Linked DNA regions of Homo sapiens: regions 2, 3, 4 and 5 are each linked to region 1. Evidence: promoter capture Hi-C in human tissues and cell types (Jung and others, 2019). All regions are on one chromosome and are shown on one strand. The core of a region is centred on a gene start or on the middle of the fragment in contact, and the rest is flanking DNA. Distances in the headings are between cores, read along the strand shown.

Region 1 (3,854 bases), core at 744-3,243:
GGGCATAGATGGCTCCATTAGATGGGTCAATGGTTACATATGTAGTTATGGAACTTCCTAGAATAAAACTCTCCAAGATGGTGTATGTCACTTGCCCATTTTCTCCAAGATCAGGATCTGTGGCTGTAACAGTGGTGATATATGCCCCTGGTGAGTTATTTTCTGAAATTACAAATTCATATCGGCTTCTCTGGAAGTGGGGTGGATTGTCATTGATATCATTGATTTGAACTGTAAAATGTTTCACTGTAGAGAGACTGGGTGTCCCCCTGTCCTCAGCGATTACAGTCAAACTATACTCAGATCTCTTTTCTCTATCCAGTGTGGCATTAGTTAAGATTAAATAATTGTTTTCATATGTCTTCTGAAGTTTAAAGTGACCATGTCCATGAAGCTTACAAACTATTTCTCCATTCAGCCCAGAATCCTTGTCCTGAACTCTGACCAAAGCAACAAATGTATCAATAGGATCCCCTTCAAAAATATAAGATATTTCTTCTTTTCCAGGGGACATGAGGTTGATGTTAATTTCAGGTTTATTGTCATTAACATCCACAACCTTAATTATAATTTTGCAATGGGCTGGGATTGAATTTGGACCCAAATCTTGAGCCTGAACATCAATCTCATAGGATTTGGTGATTTCATAATCCACTTGCTTGAAAAGAGTCAAATGTCCTCTTTCAGAATCAATTTTAAAAGTCTCCATAATTTTGGGAGACACATGACTGCTGAAGGAATATACAATTTTCCCATTAGCGCCCTCATCTGGATCCGTGGCATTCAGATCTAAGAGCAAAGTGCCAACCGGGGAGTTTTCTAAGAGTTGTATTATATAAGATTGCTGCTCAAAAGCAGGGCTGTTGTCATTGGAGTCTGAAATGCTTATTTTTAGTATGGATGAGCCAGACCTCTGAGGTACTCCCATGTCTGAGGCAGTGAGCTGAAGCTCGTAGCTTGACTTCAGCTCCCGATCTAACTCTCTGACCACTATGAGTTCTGCATACTTGGCTCCATCAGTCCTGGTCCGAACCTCGATATTAAAAAAATCATTGGCAGAGAGCGAGTATGTGTGGAGGGAATTTTCCCCAACATCTGGATCAAATGCACTGTCCAGGGGAATGCGAGTCCCAACTGCTGCACTCTCAGATATCTCAATAGGTATGAGAGATCTTGAAAACTGGGGAGAATTGTCATTAATATCCAGCACTTCAACTTCAATATGGAAAAGCTGCAGATGCTCTGTGGGTAGAGTGATCACATCAAACTCTATGGAACAGTTCAAGTTTTTCTGGCACAGTTGTTCACGGTCAATTGTAGCCCCTATGCTGATTTCCCCATTATCCTCGTTTACTACAAGTAGAGGAGAATTTCCCCTCTGCATGGCTCGAAATCGAACAGTAGAAGGATTAGGAAGCTTCAATAAAACATCAGCCACATCCTCTGATAGTCTTGCAATTACTGATCCAACCCTCTGTTCCTCATAAATCCTGTATTTCAAATTCTTGCCCAGTACATCGTGGTTGAAAGATACTATCAGAAGTGCAAAAACAAACCTAAAGTGCATTTTAGCATTCATTTGGTGCATTGGTCAGTTTATGAGATTTCCCTCACAGAGCAAGTTAAAACAGCAAAGCAATTGCCTCAACTTCCTTTGGCAACGTAAAGCTACATTTGGTACTTGAAACTTGAAAGCGTCTCTTAATAACACAGCACAGCAATTAACAGCTCGCAAACTTTTGTTTTATACACACCGTGTCACGACTTCCAGATACCTTCGGCATGGAGTCCAGTCCTTGCGTTTGTTTGGTCGTTCGTCCTCTTTCCAGGCAGGAGAGTGTCACCTCCGCGTTTTCTCCCTTGTGTAGTCGGAATCCATCTATTGCAGGGTGCCGGTGGAGTCTGCAGTGTGTCTTTCCTGAGCGATTCTTTCTCCCTTTAGCTGCTCGGCTGCAGACTAAACACCCGTGATTGCTGACTCCAGTCTAAAATCTGTACAACTTCACTTCAACTCAGACAAAGCTCTTGCCCAGCGTGTGTTGAATCGCTTCCAGCCAATCAGCGTGCTTCCAAATCAAAAGCTGATGGAGTCACCCAAGGAGGGAGGGCGAGAGTGGAGGGTGGGAGAGAGAAAGAGACGGAGAAGGAGGAAGGCGGGGGTGGGTGCGCGAGGGAGAGAAGGGGAGATGGGCTGGTGGGGGCTGGGGGAGGAGATGGGAGCCAGTCCTTCCCTGTTCCTTCCTTCTTCCTCCCCACTCCCCCTCCGCCTTTCAATCTACTGCATTCACTTTCTCTGAGCGTGCCATGACAAAGGGGAGACAAATTACAGAAGAAAAACTTTAAATCAACTTCTGGTCGCCTTTATTTATATGGCACGTTAAATTCTTCTTGTTTTCTTAATTGCCCTTTCTTCTGCCACAGACATGTAATCATCTTGCTTTTCATAGTCCTTAAGTGCTAGTTTAACTTAAAATACCTCTAAGTGCGTTTTGTTGGTGGAGGAATTTAATACAATTTGAAAACTTGCTTCTAATTATGCTTCTCAGACCACCTCCTTCCCCACTCCCTCTGTAAATACTTGGGCCTTTCTCCTTCCAGGAGCACAAGCAGATTTTCTTGGGGCTCTGTTTTTAAAGAACGGAGCAAGTAAAGAGGTTTCATTTTCTGTTTTCTTTCATCTTTATTCTTTGAAGATAAAAAAAGGGCTATCTTGCACTCTTCATTTCTCTTAATTAGCAAGACTTAAGGGAACACCTCAGAATTTGGAACTAATTAACAATATAGTTCTACCTTGTATGATTTCTTTCCTTGAGTTTGGGCAAAATTGTTTGTAATATTTCTTTGTCCTGTACTTCAAAAAAATCCTATTTATCTTGGGTAAAAGACACTGCAAGCTTTAGCATGCCAATTTCTACCAAAAGGCACTATCTATACATGGCTAGTCTTTGCAGTGAATACAGGGGGGACATGGACTCAATAGTTTACAAGTCAAATTTTTATAATATATGCATTATTTATGAAAACACTTCAGATATGTATTTTAAAAACCCCAAAGGTTGTTTACACTGACAAATCAAATGCCTGAGCTGAAAATTGCATTTTGTATGCATCAAAATGCTAGGAAATATCATGGGAGGCTTGTGCTCTATCCAGGTCACAGAAACTGATACGGTATTCTTATTTGAAAATATGATTATTTATGATGTTCTTTCTGCTCTGCAATTCCTTTTAAGTTTATCATCGTGGCTCCATTTTTGCTGCTTTTTTTCATACCTTTTTCCTTATTCCTCAGCTGTCTTCATCCGCTTGCATATTTGCTGTTTCACAGAATGTCATTGTCACTTTTTTCCATTTATTTTTTCTCACTGTCTATTTTGCCCCCCAGAAACATATAAAAAAAGTAATTTTCTGATTTTTCCACTTTGCTTACTCTCAGCAGAGCTCAGCTAAAGTCACTAAGAAGGCTCTTTCCAAAAAAGAAAGCAGAGGAGTCTCAGCGTGAATTCTCCTTCTTTTTAGGCATTCAAAAGCATTTTATAAGCCATTGTCTTTTTTTCCCCCTCCTGAAATCAGTGCTGTGTGGCAAATTGTGCAGAATAGAAATGCCTATAATGAATGTATTTAGTACTGGGTCACGCTGATGAACATTCTGCCCCCATGAATAATACTGTTTTACAAGTTTGTAGCCCTTTCAAATTGCTGATCCCCAAACCCTATAGGCAAACTAGGAAAACTACCACAAGCAAGGGGGACTTTAGAAACCCATAGCCATCTGGCCTAGATCTCTAACAATCTGAGCCAATAATTATATCAATTCAGGCTTTAGCGAACCCCTTTGCAAACACCAAAAGAGC
Region 2 (3,854 bases), core at 810-3,309, 470 kb after region 1:
GCTTCAGACTCCCAAGTAGCTGGTACTACAGGCACACACCACCACGCCCAGCTAATTTTTGTATTTTTAGTAGAGATGAGGTTTTGCCAGGTTGGCCAGGCTGATCTCAAACTCCTGACCTCAGGTGATCCACCCGCCTCGGCCTCCCAAAGTGCTGGGATTACAGGCGTGAGCTACCAGGCCCGGCCCTGGAAAGGTCTTTTTCAAGACCAAACCTCTATGTTTTTAAAGCTTGTTTCAAATAACTATTCTTATGTTCATAGAACTTCTATAATCAGACAATTTAGCATAAGCTACACAATAGGATGAACATTGAACTCATCCACAAACATTTATAATGGGTACATAACTCTATAATATGAACTTTAGAAACTCTTAAAGAAGCATACAGTACAGTCCATGAACCAAAAACACTCATAATCCTGATATAGAGATGAAATTTTTCTTATAGGAATCAAAAAGTTGAAGACAGCAATAAACAAATGCATATGATGTATAAAGGCTCTTGCATAGGTGTTAGGAACAAAACAAGTAACCAAAAGATTAATGTGGGCTGTGTTTACTTCAAGATCACAAGTATAATTGATTTATACAGCCCAAACTCAGAGACAGATACCATTCTCAAAATAAAAATCTGACAGATAATAATATTGTGAAGCAATCTGGTTTATACATAAATAAAAAGTCCCTACGATGCATTGTTAAAATAGATTTTATGATACCAATCATCAGTGTTTCAATATAATGTATTATTTTTAGGAAACAATTTTAGGCAGTAGAACTAATTTCATTTCCTTAAAATATTCAGAGTTTAGCGTTTTGAAATTGAGAGATTTTTTTTCCATTAATTTACATGTCTGTGAGAATTTCCCATGGAAAGATTTTACTTCATAATTCATGTTCATTGCATTCTTTCTGATAAATCCACTTGCAGAAAAGAGACAGAGAGGCAAAAACAAAACTGCAGTGAATGAGTGGTTCTTTTGTTTCTTCATCATTCCTTTGGGGAAGAATGCTTTACAGACATTTAAACAAAAATTTAAAGGTGGTTTTATTATTTTCCTAGATGCTTTCTAAAAATTATCTTATCATGTTTGAGTCTTTTTCAGAAAGGTGATGCTTTAGTGCTGTAGTCAAGGGCATAAAAGTAAGAAATAGGCACTCTTATTTCAATTAGGATCCAAATGATGTCATTGCTACTGCCAAAGAAGGCTCAGTTTGCTTAGAATAATGGAGAAGAAATCATTGGTACCTCTTTGAGCATGTTGAAAATGATATTTCATTGAAAGATATTACAATTAATAGTTTATAAAATGTCTACCTTAAATATTAAGACCAATTAAAATTTTGTGAAATATTGATTTTAGCAATTAAGTTCTTTATGTTTTCCTAGTTAGCAATTTTGTTATTGTCTTCATCAGTACTTAGTTTCAATTAAAGTCAGTAATTATATTTTTCTTTCTTCTATACCTTCACAAATGAAACCTAGAATAAGCAAGGGTATTCAGAGAAGATTAATCAATATTCTCTAAAAATCTGAAGTGATAATAAACATTGTCTACATTGAATAAGGCAGATTATGCATTCTTATATTTTCAAGTTTTCATAAGTACCACTCAAAACCTTCTTCTCATGGGGGCCCAAACAAAACAGATTTAATATTCAAATCATTATTATTCTCAAAGGATTTAACAAAGTTTTTATAAACAAGTCTACAGGGTGTACTGTAGAAAAACCATTAGGGATAAGGTAGAACCCCAGGGCTGTCCCCATGCCTCCATGGCTAGGCCAGAGGAGGGGAGGATGCTACAGTTTCAAAGAAGAGCTGCCTTGAGAGGAGTTGTAATCTTCTCTCAAAGGACACAGCATCCATCCCTCACTCCCTGCTTCTTATAGTATGCTGCTTGCATTCTCCACTGGCAAAAGCCTATTAGAAACCAGTAATGCTGTTCACCTCACTTAACCTTCTAGGGTCAGAGAACAGGGCAAAAAAGAGTAGAGAGCTGACATGTAAGGGCAAATGGGATTAATCTAGCATGTTGAAACTCATATTGTGTTCCCTCCTAGATTCTTAGCCTGTTACCCGGCAGCCTGTTACCTGCTTCTAGCATTTACAAAATCCCACATTACAAAAATCCCACATTACAAAGATCCATAGCAACCTCTAATAGATTTTACTGAGTAGCAGGAAAGCAGTAAGCTTAGTAGACATTAAGAGATTAGTAATGAACCAAAGAATGATTTTTAAAGCACTAGTCAATTGCCTATTTTTAAATCAATGCATAAAAAGAAGAGTTTATTTACCTGTATACATTTTTGAAGTTTCACAAAGGCTTAAAAAATTTTCGAAAACCTCTTTCATAGAAAACCTTTTAAAAGGAAGGGAAACCATGGTTCTTATTCTAAATTAACAACATTTTATATGTGCTCATTTAATCACTCAAACTATGTATTGAGTATCACGAGCTCTTCAGCATTTGGAAGTTTAGTGTAGTCAGTAGGCTATTACTGATAGCAAACTTCTAAAACAAAGTCATTTAAAATATTGATTTGATGAAACATTGTATGTATAAATTTTTTCAAGTCATTTACCACTTACAGAAAAATATACCATTTCCTTTCTATTTTTATTGCAGCTTTCTTTTTCTTGTGCTAAATAAAAAAAAATCAGCATTACAAGGATCAGCTATGTTTATGACTTTCCTTTTTTAAAAAATATGTTGAGTTATTGGTCTGCATAACATCAGAAGGTTGGAATATCCATCAGATTGCAAATTTCCCAAGGTCAGAAATTATGTTCTCTATACCACTGGAAATTTTATGCATCTTTATTAAGGACTTACAAACAAAGCAGTTGCTGAGCTCATGTAGTTTCAAGGTCTCAAATTCAAGTTCAGTACTTAATTTAATTTCTGTGTTGGAGTAATCAAGTTGAGTTATAACTTATTTTTTCTACACACATTAAAATATCAAGCACACGTTGCCAAATGCTTCATTATGATTATACCTACCCACTTGAAATGGTATTCAGAGTTCTACTAGAATACCATTACTGTTTAATTTGTTGAGCACACATTTTTTACATATTTTGATGGCCACAAATTTTCCCAGTAGAACAGCTTTGAAACAACATGGCTAAATTGTCTGCAGACTTCAGACCTTATTTGATACTAAGTTTAGAACAGAGATCACAATGAGCGTTCTACTCTCACAACTTGGATCTAAGACAAAAGGCTGCAGTAAAATTCTGGGAATGTGTCTCAAAACAAGTGAGGTGTAAACCTAGATCATAGATTTTTAAGCTTACATGTCATCTGCTTTACCTCTTTCAGATTCCTAAAATGTTTTAAATGACATAGAAATGTGAAGCCTTAAAACCCTTAAAAACTCAGACAACTTATTACAGAATTTTGAGAGAATATTTACTTGTTACTAAAAAACTAGCACTGGTTGTAGCAAATCCTAACTTTGCTTCAGTAATATACAATCTAATGACACACAGATTCACAAATTGGCAAGTTACCTCCTGCTTTAGATCTAGAATGTATACCAACCAGAAAAACAAGGCAATTGTCTTCTTAATGAATTATTTTTGAGTCAGAGCATCTTTCTCCATCCCCTTTCTGCATTAGTTCTTAAATAGCTAGTCTTCAAAGCCAACAAACCTAGAACAAACTGGGCAGGATGAGAAAATGGGTGCTGGAGAGGATGGGTGATGGAGAAGTGCTGATAATATTACCCTGCTTTTTGGGATAAATAGTCCCAAAAAGTCAAGTGTGATAATTTTGAGAAAAGAACCCTAACGACCCTGAGTTTGGAGAACTGAAGATTTTGACTGTTTTTTTGTCATAGTG
Region 3 (3,854 bases), core at 991-3,490, 320 kb after region 1:
ACTCTGGGTTCCATTTCATACTCATTTGGTTTGTTAAAGGAATGCAATTTTTTATGATTGTAAGACTAAGGTTCTCACTTTCTTGCTGTCTGTTAACTGGGGGCCATTCTCAGAGCATAAAAACACCTGTTATTTCCTGCACTAACGTGAAAACTTAAATGGCAGTTTCCTCCTTCAAGGCCGATGTGAAAATCTGTTTTACTTCAGGATATTGGGGCCATCTTGGGATTCTGCATACCACTCTATGTTTACCCACAGTGCACTAAAGCTTTCACATTTCTCTAGTACTATCTTGTGCTTGAGCCTGGGATTTATTTGGCAGAGTCTCCTTTCAGTGTCTGTTCCATCTATAGCTTCAAGTCTTTCCCTTCATTTGTCCTTCTTCAGAGTATGTCTCTCTTAATTTTCTACACCTTCTTCCAGCAGTGAATTGCTATTATTTATAGCTCAAAACTTACTAACCTGCTAGCAGAGGGGAGGGGAGTGATTCTCTATTGTTGGGGCTCAGCCTCTAACTTAGGTAAGTGCTGTGTCCCTGGGTTCTGGATTTGGTGCCTTTTCAGTGCCCTTGTCCATACCTCTAATTGTCTAGGCCATAAATGTATTTCCGGCACTTCTCTAAGAATAGAATATTTTTTCTTTTCTTTTTCCCCAGCTGGAATGGGTCTTTACCCTTGTCCTAAAAGTGATATGATTGGTTTCCCTAACCCTACTAGGTTAAAGCTTTGGTTTCATAGGGAAGATAGGGGCCTAGATGCTGCTGTACGTCTTTCCCAGGCAAGCTTCAGAGAGGAGTTTTTCTGAGGGTTTTTGTTTCACTTTTCATCATGAGCTCACAGTGAGGCCTGTGGGGAAGAACCTGTGAATCTCTCCAAATTCCCTTTGTATGTGTGGCTTCTAATACTTCTATATGCTCACATTCTCCTATGCTCAACATTTAGCAATTTATTAAAAATTTTAACTGAGTTCTTACCTGCCTGCCTGGTGTTCTTTGTCTACTGTAAGCAAACAAGAGCTAGCATCATGTCTCTCCTTGGAGGTGTCTGCCTTTCCTTAGATATTGGCTTTGTTGGTTGCCCTACAACCACAGGTCGCTGATCAATTCAAGAAAAGTTGTGATTTTGTAGATTTTCTAGATCGTACTATATTGTATTCAGGATAGAAAAACTTCTCTTCTTCGCCTTTCACACCCTGAAGGAAGCCCAATTAACTTCTTGTTTTCATTATTGTTATGAATCTTCCTTTGAACATTACAATCCCTATAAGGAGAGTGGGGATACCTTTTTTATTTACTAAGCCTGACCCTTATTTGGTATCATATTTGTTGAGTAAAGCAATGAAGAAATGAACAAATAAAACAAGTAAATGAATGAGCTGTATAGAGTTGTGTGGAGTTGCATAGTAGGAACTTAAAAGTACAGCAAATATGAGAGCTTGTAGTAATTCAGTAGAATAGTCATGTCAGATATAGAACCATGCCATTTACAAGATTCATGTACGAAAACAATTAAAAAAAAAAAAAGAACTAGCTCCTAAAAAATGGAGCTTGAAAGATCAAGAGAAAGACCAGGCAACTGCTTGTCGAACAGACTGGTAAAGAGAATTGAATCCTCCTTATGGGACTCAATACCTTGTGAGGAAGGTGAAAGAGAAAATTCATACCCTAGATGAAGAAAGGTGGTGGGATGGTTAGCTATTTATATGCTTTCATTAATTGTAGATTATACCTTTGAGAGGTGACAACGTGCCAGCAGCCCTCGCTCTCGGTGCCTCCTCGGCCTCGGCGTCCGCTCTGGCCGCGCTTGAGGAGCCCTTCAGCCTGCCGCTGCACTGTGGGGGCTCCTCTCTGGGGCTGGTCGAGGTCGGAGCCGGCTCCCTCTGCTCGCGGGGAGGTGTGGAGGGAGAGGCGCGCGGCGCTTGCAGGCCGGCGCGGGTTCCGGATGGGCGCGGGTTCCTCAGGCCCCGCCCTCTGGCCGGCAGGCCACGCCTGCTGGACTTGATCAGGGGAGGAGCTCCCTCTGGGCTGCCAGAGTGCCTTGGCTAGGTGCTGCAAAGCCCCTCGTGAGTCCCATTAAGAGGTGAAGCCAGCTGGGCTTCTAGGTCGGGTGGGGACTTGGAGAACTTTTCTGTCTAGCTAAAGGTTTGTAAACGCACCAATCAACACTCTCTGTCTAGCTAAAGGTTTGTAAACACACCAATCAGCGCTCTGTGTCTAACTAATCTGGTGAGGACTTGGATAACTTTTGTGTCTAGCTAAAGGATTGTAAACGCACCAGTCAGCACTCTGTCAAAACAGACCAATAAGCTGTCTATAAAACGGACCCATTAGCTGTCTGTAAAATGGACCAATCAGCAGAATGTGGGTAGGGCCAGATATGGGAATAAAAGCAGGCCACCCAAGCCAGCAGTGGCAACCTGCTGGGGTCCCTTTCTACACTGTGGAAGCTTTGTTCTCTCGCTCTTCGCAATAAATCTTGCTGCTGCTCACTCTTTGGGTCCGTGCTGACTTTAAGAGCTGTAACACTCACCATGAGGGTCCACAGCTTCACTCCTGAAGTCAGCGAGACCACGAACCCACCAGAAGGAAGAAACTCTGGACACATCTGTACATCTGAAGGAACAAACTCTGGACACACCGTCTTTAAGAACTGTAACACTCACCGCGAGGGTCCACGGCTTCATTCTTGAAGTCAGCGAGACCAAGAACCCACCAATTCCTGACACACCTTTGCTAGAGGATCAGCATAGTGTTTGCTGTGGCAAGCTAACCAGATACACTTTCAAGTCCAAGATACCCAGTCCCTAGCTGCCAGCATTGTTGGCTGCTGACACCTCATAATTGTGCAAAAAGAAGTTGCTTTTCTCAAGATTTTGCTTCACACTCCCCAACAGCGGCACCAATGAAGAACACAAAGGCAAAGCCCACATGCATTTCAGCTTCAGAGCTGTCTCTGAGATTGGATGAGGTCTCTGTTGCATCCCAGTTAAACTTCTGACTAATGCTGCTTCCTTTACTCTCACAGGTGTTTCTTAGAGCCTTCCCCAGTATACTTCACACATACATAGTTCTGAGGTAGTTCCTTAGAGAAGTCAATCTGCAGCAAATAAAAGAAATTATTTTCAAATTCTGATAATTTGTAAATTTAGGGTTACTGATATATTATTTGTCATTAGCTTTTCTGCTCGTTGGTTCCAGAAGAAACCATGGTGTGATAGACTGAATGATGACTCCCTCTCCCACAGCAATGTCCATGTCTCAATCCTCAAAACCTGGGAATATGTTACTTTACATGGTCAAGGAAATTTTGCAGATGTAATTAATTTGAGGATTTTGTGATGGAGAGATTATCCGGAATTATCCAGGTTGGCCTGGATAATCACAAGGGTCCTTTTAAGAGTGGGACAGGATTAGAATCAGACAGAAGATGAAGTGACGACAGAAGCAAAGGAACAGAAAGAAAGATTAGAGCATGCTACACTACTGCTTTAAAGATGAAGGAAGGGGACATAAGCTGAGGAATGCTGGCATTCTCTAGAATCTAGAAAATGCAAGGAAATGGATTGCCTCCTAAGGCCTCCAGAAGGAATGCAGCCCTGCCACTCTTTTTTAGACTTTGACCTCCATATATATGAAATAAAACTTTGCTTTCCTATAAGCCACTCAATTTGTGGTAACTTGTTACAACTTCAATGTGAAATGAGCATGAACATACATAGTAATCATTTGGAACAGCAGGGACAGAAGAGTCTAAGTTTGTTCAAAAGATGACCAAATGTTTACAGAGATGTAACCAAAGGCATAAGATTATGAATGTCATTTCTCTTGTATATTTTCTCGATATTTATAATCTGGT
Region 4 (3,854 bases), core at 889-3,388, 280 kb after region 1:
ATGGAGAACCCACACAATTTTTAAGAGAATTATTTTGGTCAAAATAGCTCCAGCTTAGACAAAAATGGAAAAAAAGACTTTGGGATATCTAAGCTTTCTTGGGCAGGAAACTGGCTGTCAAGGATACAGAGGGCAGATCCGTGAGCCATGAGCATGGAAACAAGAACCACAGAGAATAATGCCCTGAGAGCAGCAGTGAGGCCTGATTATCAAAGGCCTAAGTCATCAAAATGGACCCAGTGGATTTCACAATGGACATGTACCAGTGACTGCTGTGTACCTCCTGTTATTCCCTTTTAATGAGAATGTTTATGGAAATTATCTTATGCCTGTTCCCCTGTTCTATTCTAACCCATAATCTCTCTGCCTCATTTGGGATAAGAATAAAACCCTTTCCACCCTGCTTTCCCATTCTCTCCTTCCTTCCTCTTATACTTTAAAACTTTCAGTGAAATTTACTTTAAAATTCACTATGCTTTTAGAGCTTTTCCTCTAGCATGTTTATACCAAGATATTTCTCCTTTTTTGTTTAAACTCACAAAATCAGCCATTTTTTCTCCTTCATGTGTGTTGGGGAGAAGATAACTTGTTTCTTTAGTTCCCAGATCTTTAGATTAGGAGAACCATACTCAACGGGCTGTCCCGTAGGAGCCAAATTCCAAGAGCTTCACCTGCACATGGATCTGATTTAGGTGATGAAACCCTGGACTTTGAACTTGAAACCAATTTCATAATGAGATAGGATGTTTTAGGAGTTTGAAAAAGGTTAAATGTATTTTACATGTGAAGAGAATGTAAATAACTTGTGGCAAGATGTCATACCGTGGCAGTTTAAGAATATGAGCCCCGAATGCTTTGCCATTCCTCCCATTGAATACTAGGGTTTATGTTCTTCCCCATAAACCCAGGTTCTGTGACAGGTTGACCAGCAGTATATGGCTAAAATGATTCTGTGCCATTTTCTGGGGCCAGGGCTTAAAAAGTGGAGGCTTCCACTTCCTGTGTCTTGTGGTATTGCTTCTGGGAACGAACCACCATAGTGTGAGTAGAGAAAATGGAGGCACCCCATGGAGAGACCCATGAAAGAGAAAAACCAAGCCCTCAGCCATTAGTCAACACTATTTTGGAAGCCTTGTGAGACAGCCACCTAGCACGTAAATCCTCCAGTCTGTTGTATGTAACTAAGCTTTGCTGCAATCGATAACTGATACATATTTACTGTTGCACACCAAAATGATCCTGCACAAATTATTTGCCTCTCAAAGAGTTTTCTCAGCTGTAACATAGAGATAATCATGGTTTCTACCTGATAGTAAGGATCAAATGAGGGAGAGATTTGAAATGTCTAGCAAAGTGTTTAGGACATATTAAACTTTGAATAAGTGCTATCTATAATGATGTTCAAGGTGATTTAATTTTTGTTATTTTTTAAATAAATATGAGGAACTATCCTTATTTCGATTTCTCAAAATATTAGATTCTGTTTTAAAGGAAAGCTTGAAGTCACCTGGAGAGACCTTGGGCTCCTGTAACCACATGACTCCAGTGCATGTATATTTTCAAGTAAAAATGAAAATAAATTTGAGTCCTTATGTTGTTTTATACATTTTTGCCATGTGAGATTTAGCCGCATGCATTTTACTTTTTATATTTTCATGTATAGTTTCTGGGTTTTCCTGTTTGGAAATATTAGACCTTATTTTTCCCACTATTTCTATTCTTATTCTCCTTCATTCCTATTCAGGCATCTGTGTTAGGCAGATAACTCTCCATATGTACTGGGTACAAATTGCTCTTCATCAGGAAGTGCCACTTCACAAATTTAGAAAGAGAGGCATAGAGTCATTACAAAGGCTATTAAATAAAATAAAGTAGCTTGTTCAGAAACAAATAGATATTAACATCATCCTGTAACTAGACAACTTAAATAGCATATGGGATATATATTTTATCCTTACATGGCATCCTTGTTCTAATTCAATCACTCCTGTCAAATATACATTTAAAAACAAATTAGATGACAGCCATTAAAATTAGCATGCACCCACACACAAACACACCAGTTATTAAAGACCCTAATCGAACCACATATTTTTAGATTTGGACTTCTCAGAAACTTGGGCAGTCTGAGTACATCAACAAAGTGTTTTCCTTAGAAACAGCATATGTAGGTTTGAATGAGAAGTTAGCAAATGCCATCTTTATCCAGTGACTTGATTTGTAATTATTAGAGTTCTTACATATTATAAAACCTGGAAAGTTATTTTTAAAACATTGTGGAGAGAAAAATCTTTATTTTTTTTCCTTTAGGCAACAGAGGTCATGAAACATTTGATGAAATACATGGAAATCATACACAATACATGATTTTTCCCTGAATCAAATTGATTAACTGTGAAGATTTTTATAAACGATTCAGAAAGAAAAAATTACTTTACTTTTGCTAACATAATTTTTTTTCATCTCTATGGCCACACAACCATTTCAAAGAAAAGTCTCAACTCAGATTTACCTTTGCCAAATGAAGAGCAACAAAGTCTGTGTCAGCGTAGCCCAGGCTCAACTGGGTCTGCCCTTTTCATCAGGAGCATCATCTGCTTGCTGCGTTAGTCTGCTGGTCATGCTCCTATGAACATGGGGAATGGGAGGGGGTAGACTTCATCAAGTATTGTCCAGGAATCTTTCTGTATTGATGCCTAATACATGCTGAAACTACAGTAAATACCTCGAAGGTAAAAAGGTCCTACTTTTGATTTCCATGACTTTTTTATTTTTGTACAATTAAGAGAAAAATACATTAATAAGGTACTTGGGATCTTTTTCTGGAATTCAAGTTAGCTTTGCTTGTATGCTCTGCTAAGTTAAAATGTGAATGGATTAAAATAGCTTGTGTCATCATGCTAAGTAATAGGAATAAAGTAAGTTCTTAACAAGCAATGACAATGAGATTAGTAGCCCTGACCAGGGTTCACAAATAGGTTAGCATCACTGTATTTAAACTGGTAATGAAAATTTTGTTCAGAGTTAAATGAGCTCTGTTTAAGGATCACTGTGAGGTTAACTCTACAAGAAAAATATTATTTAATCTGTATTCCTTACAATTTCTGACCCCTAAGATAGAAGCTTCGTCCATTCCTTGAGATGCTTTAAAGATATATAGCAATGATTTTTACTCATTTGGTAGCCCTCACAACACTTATAACACCCATGAAAAAAAAATGCTTTATGAGAAGGAAAAAGCGAAATGCTCATAACTTATGAACGTGCATTAAGATAAGACAAAAAATGTAAAGTCAAGATCAGAATATAAGTTACTGATATGGTAGCCCAACACATCAGCCACCTTATCAGCCTTGTTTCTATATTATTATAGAGGTCCTACCAATTACAAAACAGTTGTCCACCGCTATTATTAACTCAGTCTGTAAAATTTCTTTTCCTCTAGAAATAATATATCCAACAATAATAAATAAAGTAACAATATGGCTGGTATTAACCATTAGAATTTCATGTATTATAGGATGATTATAGAAATAAATATGGAAACTTTGTCAGCTATAATGAGATCTTACTGATATTTAATGTAACCTTACCTTTTAAGTGGTATACAAGGAGGCCTTATATATGAATAATTCATATATCCAACAAAAATTATACAATTTAATGTTTATAACACTTCCTATATGCCAGACATTGTGCTTAATGCTTCACAAAGAAGATTGCTAGTTCCTAACTACAATTACTTCTACAATTATTCCCATTTTGCAGATGTAGAAATTAATTATGGCTTAGAAGGATTAATTACATTCTATTAGATCACAGAGCTGGTAGTAGAAAATCAAGATTCACACCAG
Region 5 (3,854 bases), core at 495-2,994, 260 kb before region 1:
GAGAGGCAGACCTACCCTCAATCTGGGTGGGCACCATCTAACAGCTGCCAGAGTAGTTAGGAGAAAAGCAGGCAGAAGAACCTGGAAGGACGAGGCTGGCTGAGTCTTCCGGCCTCTGTCTTTCTCCCATGCTGGATGCTTCCTGCTCTGGAACATCAGACTCCAAGTTCTTCTGTTTTTGGACTCTTGGACTTACAGCAGTGATTTGCCAGGGGCTCTCAGGCTTCAGCCACGGACTGAAGGCTGCATTATCAGCTTCCCTTCTTTTGTGGTTTTGGGACTTGGACTGGCTTCCTGGCTCCTCAGCTTGCAGGTGACCTGTTGTGGGACTTCACTTAGTGATTGTGTGAGTCAATTCTCCTAATAAACCCCCCTTCATACATACATCTATCCTATTAGTTCTGTCCTTTTAGAGAACCCTGACTAATACAGGGAGAAATGGAAATATATTTGTTCCAAGACTCCCAGTAGATGCCTAATACTGTGCTAGTGCCAAAGCTTATACATACACTATATGTTTTCCTATATATTGATATTTATGATAAAGTTTAATTTCTACATTAGGAACAGTAAAAGATTAACAACAATGACTAAAAATACAGTAGAACATTTATAACAATATGCCAGCATCACTACTCTTGCACTTTGGCACCATTATTAAGTAAAGAGTTAATTGCACAAAAACACTGTGATACCGCAACAGTTAATATCATACCCCAGAGGGATACTAAGTGGGTAGTGTGTGCAGCTTGGATACACTGGACAAAGTGATGATTCATGTTATGGGTGGAACCAAGTGAGATGGTGTGAGATTTTATCATATTACTCATAATGGCACACTATTTAAAGCTTATGAATTATTTCTGGAATTTTCCATGTAATATTTTTGGACCCTGGTTGACTGTGGGTAACTGAAATCACGGAAAGTGAATCAATGGATAAGGGAGGACTACTATAATATTTTAGACTACAATCTTAAGTATTATAAGCCTACAATTTCACATGCCGCTGCTTTCACATTGTTGAACCTTGTGGGGCACAAAAGGCCTAAAGGTGAGTCTCCTTGCTCTCAACAGACATACTCTGACCCAGCTAGTTGGATCAGGTGAGGCAGCTGCTCGCCATCTGGTCCTCAACCTAACAGGTTTTTTATGCCTGCCACCTCAAACAAGTTATTAGAACAAGTTCGTATCTTTCTCAGGTACTTCACCCTCTCATTACTACCAAGCCTGCCTCCCACAGCCCTTGCTTGTTCAGCTTTGTCCCCTGTGCACCCTCTGCATGGCCTTGTGTCATGCCTGATACTACTCTGGAGCTATGGGTATGTTTTAACAATAAACTTGTTTGATTTCATTTGTGCAATATTGGTCATCATATATTTGTTTTTTTTTTCATATTAGGTAAAGGAGACGATATCTTCCTCACCAGCAGGATAAATAATAGGTGATCAAAAGACCCCAGAGCATGGTGCAAAAAAAAAATATGAAACAAACTAATTTTCCTCGATCTACATTTTGGAAAACCACTGTTATATTTTTCAGCTCCCAGTGGGAGTTTTTAATGCCTTTTTCAGCAACAAAACAAAACAAAACAAAACATTGCATTACATACCATAGGAGAGTAATGGAAAAGAGAAACAAAAATCCAGGATTAATTCTAAAGTCTTATATTCCTAAACACTATGAATATAGATAATAGGTCTTGATTTAAAGCTTTCCATATTAATTTAATCCCTTGTAAACTCTGCTGTTTCATAGAAATTATACTTTAAGATGAAGATTAAAAACAGAAAAAGAATATTTTGTGTCTGTTCATTCATGTTATTCCTTGATTCATTGTAGCATAATGAACAAAATTTTAGTTTAAGATTAAAAACTTGCAATTATGGTGACAGTTAAATATATATTATAGAAACATGAAAAAACTACAACTCTTTATGACATTCAGAGATCATGAAAACATGCTATTAAGAGATTTTCAATATAATACTAGAGTAACTTGGAAAAATATAAACTAATAATTTAAAAACTTTGTGAAAGTCAACAGATAATATTTTATAATATAAAGTTAACATTCATTTTTTAAAACTTCAACTCTAGAGCCTAGAAGATTTGATGAAAGAGAAACTTTTTTATTCACTTTATTGATAATGTTCAATTGTAACATTTCTGCTGCATTTAAGATAGCACAATCTCACCTTACAAGCAAATTACTCATGTCTATTTCCTATCTCGATAAGCACACCTAAGAGCATACGATTTTGTTTCCATTCACAGATGTACCATAGATACTTATGAGGAACATTTCCACATGTTGCACACCTCCTTTAATTTTGTTTGTTAGTTGGTCCTTGTAGATCAACTTTATGGGTTTTATCTTGACCTATCACATTTATTTGTAACATATGATAATCTGAGCAAGAAGGCAAATGCACTTCCATTTTGACTCTCAACCTGGATATACATATTTCCCTGACAATGTGCAGCCTCCATTGTGAAGACTGAACTTGAGGATGTGTCTTAGAAAGACTCACCGGAACATTAGCCAGATGTTAACAATGTATATTACTGCAGGTCTAATTTGTTCTGAAAATCTCTTTGTGAACTTGACAAAGCCATATGCCTCAGTATGTTCTTTCATCAGTTAAAAAAAAGGGGTTTGGGACTATTTCAGCAACAAAAATGCTATGAATATAATATTTTGACTAACTGCCTTTTAAATTTTTATATATTTTCCATTTGCATTCATTTAGGATATGTAATATATTCATATAGTTCAAAATGCAAGAGGCATACAATTTTAAAGAACATGTTGAAGGCCTACCCATCACTGTCAGCCTAATTTAGCCCACCTCAATGCTTTTGAGGTAACCACTGTCATTACTTTTGGATGCATCACTCCAAGGTGGCTTTATGCAATTATAATTGTATACAATTACTTTCCTCTTTCTTCCAAAAAATAAAACTTACTCTATACAGTATTCTAAAGATTGGCTTTTTCATCATATGTATCTTGAGCTCTTTAATATTATAATATAGAAAGTTATCTTATTATCTTTTTCTGCTTTATGATAATGGTATTATAGTTTATTTTAGTAGTCCTTTATTAATAAATACTTGGGTTGTTCCCACTTTCTTGGTGTTACAGACTATATTTCAATGTATTACTTTATGCAATACTTTATCCAATCTATGCAGAAACATATGTAAGATAAATTCCCAGTGAGATGTGTTGTTCATAGGCTAGAAGCATTTATTTAGAGATATTGCTAAAACTTGTTTCATTAGAAGTACACCATTTTTTCTCCCACCATCTATGTATGAAAGAACCTGTTTCTCCTTAGTTTGGGAAAGAATATTTTCTCATCATTTTGCATGTTTGTTAATCATAAATATAAAAAATAAATCTTGCTTTATTTCTAATTTGCATGTCTCACGAGTAAGTTTGAAGACTCACAAAAATTATTTTTTGAAAACATTTGAATTTATTTTTCTGTGATTTCTCTCTTCAATATCTCATATTTTATGTATCTGTGAAGTATTTGCATGTCTTAGTCCATTTATGCTTCTATAACAAAACACCTGAGACTGGATAATTTACATAAAACAGAAATTTATTTTCTCACATTTCTGGAGGCTGGGAAGTCTAAGATTAAGGTGCCAACATATCCAGTGTCTGGAAAGGACTGCTCTCTCCTTCCAAAATGATGAGTTGCATGCTGTGTTTGTGAGAGGGGAGGAATGGTATGTCCCTCCATGACAGAAGATAGAGAGCAAAAAGGGGTGAACCTCCTCTGTCAAGCCCTTTTATAATGGCATTAATTCATTCACAACGGAAGGGCCCTCATGACATAA

What was found. The method cuts DNA at HindIII sites, captures the fragments that hold promoters and counts their contacts. A contact is called where the count stands out against the background at its distance.
Region 2: a contact is called between a fragment that was not itself captured here and the fragment with the promoter of PCDH18 in region 1, in 1 of the 25 tissues and cell types used here (mesenchymal stem cells).
Region 3: a fragment that was not itself captured here is called in contact with the fragment with the promoter of PCDH18 in region 1 in 1 of the 25 tissues and cell types used here (mesenchymal stem cells).
Region 4: a fragment that was not itself captured here is called in contact with the fragment with the promoter of PCDH18 in region 1 in 2 of the 25 tissues and cell types used here (heart left ventricle and mesenchymal stem cells).
Region 5: a fragment that was not itself captured here is called in contact with the fragment with the promoter of PCDH18 in region 1 in 2 of the 25 tissues and cell types used here (dorsolateral prefrontal cortex and mesenchymal stem cells).

What each region holds. Positions count from the first base shown.
Region 1 is chr4:137,530,501-137,534,354 of GRCh38, forward strand. It overlaps PCDH18 (protocadherin 18), which reads right to left and starts at 1,994. Exons shown (of 4, transcript NM_019035.5): 1 at 1-1,994. The coding sequence starts at 1,588. RefSeq lists an enhancer at 1,903-2,022. The HindIII fragment of the contact is 2,929 bases long and covers 906-3,834 here.
Region 2 is chr4:137,995,686-137,999,539 of GRCh38, forward strand. No RefSeq gene overlaps it. Among named protein-coding and RNA genes, the nearest start is that of SLC7A11-AS1, 91 kb to the right of the region's middle. The HindIII fragment of the contact is 4,525 bases long and covers 1-3,854 here.
Region 3 is chr4:137,851,728-137,855,581 of GRCh38, forward strand. No RefSeq gene overlaps it. Among named protein-coding and RNA genes, the nearest start is that of SLC7A11-AS1, 240 kb to the right of the region's middle. The HindIII fragment of the contact is 3,490 bases long and covers 496-3,854 here.
Region 4 is chr4:137,811,776-137,815,629 of GRCh38, forward strand. No RefSeq gene overlaps it. Among named protein-coding and RNA genes, the nearest start is that of LINC02172, 270 kb to the left of the region's middle. The HindIII fragment of the contact is 4,270 bases long and covers 4-3,854 here.
Region 5 is chr4:137,266,441-137,270,294 of GRCh38, forward strand. No RefSeq gene overlaps it. Among named protein-coding and RNA genes, the nearest start is that of LINC02511, 56 kb to the left of the region's middle. The HindIII fragment of the contact is 5,929 bases long and covers 1-3,854 here.